2 separate regions of the Homo sapiens genome follow, and region 1 is linked to region 2. Evidence: promoter capture Hi-C in 16 types of primary human blood cells and fetal thymus (Javierre and others, 2016). All regions are on one chromosome and are shown on one strand. The core of a region is centred on a gene start or on the middle of the fragment in contact, and the rest is flanking DNA. Distances in the headings are between cores, read along the strand shown. Region 1 holds the start of TMEM208 (transmembrane protein 208). Region 2 holds the start of CES4A (carboxylesterase 4A).

The links. The method cuts DNA at HindIII sites, captures the fragments that hold promoters and counts their contacts. A CHiCAGO score of 5 or more calls a contact.
Region 1: a contact is called between the fragment with the promoter of TMEM208 here and the fragment with the promoter of CES4A in region 2, in 15 of 17 cell types (activated CD4 T cells, naive CD8 T cells, total CD4 T cells and 12 more). The highest score is 12.3, in activated CD4 T cells.

What each region holds. Positions count from the first base shown.
Region 1 is chr16:67,225,877-67,228,787 of GRCh38, reverse strand. It overlaps TMEM208 (transmembrane protein 208), which reads right to left and starts at 1,658. Exons shown (of 6, transcript NM_014187.4): 1 at 1,564-1,658; 2 at 857-952; 3 at 374-433; 4 at 157-293. The coding sequence starts at 1,569. It also overlaps the pseudogene FBXL9P. RefSeq lists an enhancer at 1,506-1,855. The HindIII fragment of the contact is 11,037 bases long and covers 1-2,911 here.
Region 2 is chr16:66,987,277-66,990,019 of GRCh38, reverse strand. It overlaps CES4A (carboxylesterase 4A), which reads right to left and starts at 1,431. Exons shown (of 14, transcript NM_001364782.1): 1 at 1,190-1,431. The coding sequence starts at 1,247. The HindIII fragment of the contact is 37,432 bases long and covers 1-2,743 here.

The DNA.
Region 1 (2,911 bases), core at 409-2,908, 240 kb before region 2:
GAAATAAAGCTGGAAAGACAGCATATGGGCCCTTCCACCCTTTTCAAGTTGCAACTCCCTTCCACCCTTTTCAAGTTACAAGTAGCTGTGCTTCTTGGGCTATCTGGGCCCCAGCCCTGGGGCCGCTCACCTGGGCTGGCGGTGGGGGACACTCACTCTGCCATGCCCTGCTCCATGTTGAGGTCCATGCCACCATCCATCAGGGCCCCATCCTCAGAGAACGCTGCTCGTGCCATCGAGCTCATAGAGTGGTAGCTGGCCCCATACACTGCCAGACTAAAGCCCAGGGCCAACTGCAGAGCAAGAATGAGGGTATCAAAGGCCAGCCACTGACCCTACGCACTCATCCACCTCCCAGGATGGAGATACTTACCCAGGCCCAAAATGAGGCAGATGAGTAAAAGAAGACCAACGTCACAAGGCAGTAAATGGCCTGCAAGCAATCACAGGATCAGGTTGGGGTCAGAAGTTACCTCCAAACCATGGGTCTCCCTCAACTCTGACCAAGAATTAGGCCAGGCTGTGGGAGGAGCAAGGTTGTTCTTACAGGGTTGAAGAAAGGGCCCTGCTCCCTGAATCCCAAATACCCACTCTCCTCTGACACCCAACTCAGCCCAGGAAAGAAGCCTTTGTGTACTTGGAGGTAGGAAGAGCTCTCAAATTCAGCTACGACTCACGCCTTCATTTTCTTTGTGTTTTACTAGTTAGCACTTTCTCTGTGCCCAGATCTCTCATTTCTTTTTGACTGGAGCTCTCTTCTAGAGCTTTTTCGGGTACCACTCCTCGTCACCAAGCAGGGCTGAGGACTAGGGAACTGACTATAAGTGGGCATAGAAGCAAGGAGGTAGGCACTTACATTGGCCCCCAGTATGATCCGCAGGTAGAACTTCAGAGTCTCTCTGTTCTCTTCAAATATCTGCTTCTTCCCTCTCGTGCCCACTTTGCCCTTGGGCTGCAGAGGAATGATGAGATGCCGTCAGGAGGCCACGGTCCTCCTCATTCTCCCCACCAGCCTGGTGAGCTATAGAGCTCCATCCGCAACTCAGCCAGGTCCCCGTAGTGCAGAAACCTAGCAAAATCCCTGGGATGTCCACCCATCCTCCAGTCCATTCTGCCTAGGGCTGACGCCATCTCTCCAGCACCCGCAGCTAGGATCAATCGCCTCTTGCTCGCCCTGGAACAATTCAATCCTAAGCTAATACCGCCTCTGGATCCCGTGGTAGTCTGGCTTTAGGCTAACGACTCTTCCAAGGGTACTCCTGAGCGGAGTTGAATGGTGCCTCTCTCAGGCCTCCGCTGGCGTAGTCCCGATCTGGGTTAACCCCCACCTCAGGTCACTTAGATCTCTGGCCTGCCCTGGTACTGATGCCCACCCCGCTCTGGCACTAGTCCTGGTATGGTCCTGCGCCGCCATCCCCCCAGCCCAGCTCTAGCACGGTCTGGCCAGGGATGGCGCCCCGCTCTGGCCCACCCCATATCCCTTAATGTTCTTTCTCAGTTTTCACTCTCACAGCCCCTGGAGAGCTTTGCTGGTGCGGACCCCGCCCTATCCATCCTCCTTACCGCCATGGTGCGAGGCAAATACCCAGCCCGGGAAACACGGGAGAGCGACCGAAACCGCAATCACTAAGCACCACATCGGCAGCTCATGCACTTCCGGCGCAGACCGAAGTCGTCAGCTTTTGCGACGGAAATAGGTCTCACTTCCTTCCCAAGCCCCGCCCCAAAGAGGCGAGACTACATTTCCCAGAAAGCCTTGCGCAGTGGGGGCGGAGGCGGCAGGGATGCGATGGCGGAGTCGCTGCCCCTGGAGGTGAGAGGAAGCCGCCCTCAGGCCTAGCTCTGGACAGGCCCCGCCCTCGCGGTCCTGAGCTTTGGGGAGGGGCTGTCAGATAGCTAGCCCGGCCCCTCCAGCCTGGCGGAAACGACCCGCCCTCCCGATCCCGGGACCTTCTAGCTCTGGGTAACGGTTCCTCCTTTGGGCCACTCTGTCCCTTTAGCTTGGGGGACCGTCCTCCCCTTCCCTATCGGCCCCAGAAGATAGCTGCCCTGTCATCTCCGCGAGAACAGGCCCTCTGCCCATCCCCTTCCCTTGAAGTGGCTGTCTCCTCCCCGCTCAGTTCTGGAAGATGTCCGCTCCATCTCATCGTCCCGAAGGGTAACTGATCTTATCCCCATTGGTCCCTTGGGATGATCTCTCCATTTCCTACAGAGACGGCCGCCCCTTCTCCCTGGCAGTGGGAAACAGACTGCTCCCTCCCCATCAACTGCAATGATCTCTGAGTTCCTTTAACAAGGATAGGCCTGTTCCCCATTCCTAGGCCCCTAGTGATGGCCGCCCTTACCTCTTTCACTCCGTGGGATGTTTGCTCCTTCCCCTTAGCCAGGGGCAAGACCACTCTGCCCCATCTGCCAGGGAGATAACAGGTTTTGTCTTCAGTGGCCTGTTGGAATGGCTTCTCCATCTCTTTTGTCCTGAGGGTTGGCAGCCCCCTCTCTCTGCCCATGGGAAACAGGCCACCCTTTCCCATCGGTCCTGGAATGATGCTCCTGTCCTTAGCAAAAATAGGCCTGTTCCCACCCCTATTGAGCTTGCAGTGCTATCCCTTTCCCCCTTAGCTTTAGGGGCTATCTATTTCCATCCCCATAGACCCCATGAGTGACCAATCATTATCTCCAGTAGCCCCCTTGAGATGGGACTCATGGGATGGTCACTCCATCCTCATCACTGCCTCCTCTTGTCCCTCTAGAAAGGCCACCCTCTTCTTAGGTCAATGAATTGTGTCCCTTCCCGACTCACCCCAAGGGATGACAGGTTTGTTCCCCTCTCCCTTTGCTCTTGGGCTGGCTGCTTAGCCCCAGAAGACAGGATGGCCACTGTCTTAACTCAGCTCAAACAGGCTTCCGTGCC
Region 2 (2,743 bases), core at 182-2,681:
TGTTAAAAGCGGAGTAAGCAAAGTTTCCTTCAAATTTAAAATAATGGATATATGTATATATGGGCAAAATTTATTTATGATAGAGGTCAGACTAGTGGTAACTTTGAGTATTGACTGAGAAGGAGTACATGGGACGCTGGAGATGGTTTTTTGTTTTTTTTTTTGAGATAGAGTTTCGCTCTTGTTGCCCAGGCTGGAGTGCAATGGCACGATCTCGGCTCACTACAACCTCTGCCTCCTGGCTTCAAGCGATTCTCCTGCCTCAGCCTCCTGAGTAGCTGGGATTACAGGCATGTGCCACCATGCCTGGCTAGTTTTGTATTTTTAGTAGAGACGGGGTAATAATATTGGTTAGGCTGGTCTCAAACTCCTGACCTCAGGTGATCTGCCCGCTTCGGCCTCCCAAAGTGCTGGGATTACAGGTGTATCCTTGTAAGTTAAAAAAACTTTTTAAAAAATGTTTTTTAAAAATAGAGACAGAGTCTATTTACCCAGGCTAGGTCTCACTATTTGCCCAGGCTGGTCTCAAACTCCTGGGCTCAAGTAATCCTCCCACCTCAGCCTCTCAAAGTGCTGGAATTACAGGCATGAGCTACCATGCCTAACCCACTGGAAATGTTCTAGATGTTGATCTGGATAATGGTTACCATATATATATATATAATAATTAGTATAATAGATATAATTATACAGTGAAGATGTGTGCACCTTGCTGTATACATCTTATACCTCAGTAAACTTTTGTTAATGTATTAGATTGTTTTCACAGTAAAAAGTGTAGTACTCATTTTAAAAAGAAAGATATTGGGGAGAAATTTGAAGGTGGTAAAGAGGTTCATGTAGCAGAGAGGGGGCAGAGACAGGCCTCCTGCTTAGGAGAAGGAAAGAAGGATGGAAGGAAGGAAAAAGGTGGGAAGGAAGAAAAGATGTGGCCATGTTCTCAGACCCCTTCACCTGTGCCGGGAGGCAGGAAATACAGAGAAGCCCTGAGGTTCAGGGAGGCTAAAGGACTTGTCCAGACTCCCAGCTGGTAGATGGTTTAGTGTCCTGAAACCCTACCCTCCATTTGCCCAGGCCTTGTCTAAGTGCTCCTGCCCTGCTGTCCCCAGGAGAGGTTGAACTGGGGCCTGTCCCTCCATCCCTTGTGCCCGTCTTGCCTGACACTCTCGGGAAGGGGTGGGGGTCTTACCCAAGGCCGTCTGCGCCATCAGGCAGAGGGTGAGGCTCCAGCACAGAATCCACCTCATGCTCCAGCCAGCTCCTGCTGTGGGCAGGAGTGATGGCAACACTGTGGATGGCAACACTGTGGATGGCATGGTAGCCGTGTCTACAGTGTGTGAGCACACTTTTATCTGCTCTTAATCCCTGCCAGCAAGTACTGGGGCGGGAGGAATTGTAACCAGCTTCTGACCAGCCCACAGCCTTGTCTCTGCCTTGGGCAACAGGTCACGCTAGATGATCTTGGCTCTTCAAACTGATCAGCCTGCAATCTCCGCCCCGTTTGCTCATCTGTGCAGTGGCTTAAAGCTGAACATGTGTGAGTCAAGGTCTAAGCATACAGTGGGTGCCAAGATTGAAGTAGAACACCTGGTTACTTGGCCCTTCAGCCAGGGCTTCCTGTCTGTGGATTTAAGGGTCTTGGGCCTCCCTGCTCCCCAGTGCCTCGTCTAGCCTCTTCCCTGCCTTTCCTCGCACATGCTGACCCTTGGCTGTCCTCACAGTTTCATAGTCCACATGCGGAAGCTGGACCTGAAAGCAACCGTAATGTGGGAGCCCAGAGGGGCACCCGAGGAGTGAGCCCAGAGCCGGGTGGTGGGAATGAAGATTCCCTGGAAAAGATCTAATCTTCTAAGTAAAGGATGAGGAGGAGTGGGCCAGGCAAAGAAAGATCCTGTTTGAAGTTTGGAGCCACAGGAGCAAGTGTGGGAGGTGGAAGCAAGGAGACAGCAGTCCCATCTTCAGTCAAAGGTAAGATGGGGCTGGGTGTGGTGGCTCATGCCTGTAATACCAGCACTTTGGAAGGCTGAGGCAGGTGGATCACCTGAGGTCAGGAGTTCGAGACCAGCCTGGCCAACATGGTGAAACCCCGTCTCTACTAAAACAAAGAATACAAAAATTAGCTGGGCGTGGTAGTGTGTGCCTGTAGTCCCAGCTACTCAGGAGGCTGAGGCAGGAGGATGGCTTGAACCTGGGAGGCGGAGGTTGTAGTGAGCCGAGATCGGGCCACTGCACTCCAGCCTGGGTGACAGAGTGAGACCCTGTCTCAAAAATAAATAGGCCAGGCACGGTGGCTCATGCCTGTAATCCCAACACTTTGGGAGGCTGAGGCAGGCGGGTCACGAGGTCAGAAGATCGAGACCATCCTGGCTAACACCCCGTCCCTACTAAAAATACAAAAAATTATCCGGGCGTGGTGGCACGCGCCCGTAGTTCCAGCTACTCAGGAGGCTGAGGCAAGAGAATTGCTTGAAACCAGGAGGCGGAGCTTGCAGTGAGCCAAGATGGCGTCACTGTACTCCAGCCTGGGCGACAGAGTGAGACTCCATCTCAAAGAACAAAAAAAAGGTAAGATGTTTCCTCTCTCGTGTACCCCCAAAGTCTGGGGTCCTGGCCCATCTTTGTGAAAAGAGGGTCTGTTGGGCTTCTGTGCTGGGGAGGGGAAAAGGCAGGGGAACAGAGAACTTCTCCCTTGGCCCACAGCCTCTTGCTCTATAGGCCTGACAGATGGTTAAACCTCCTTCTT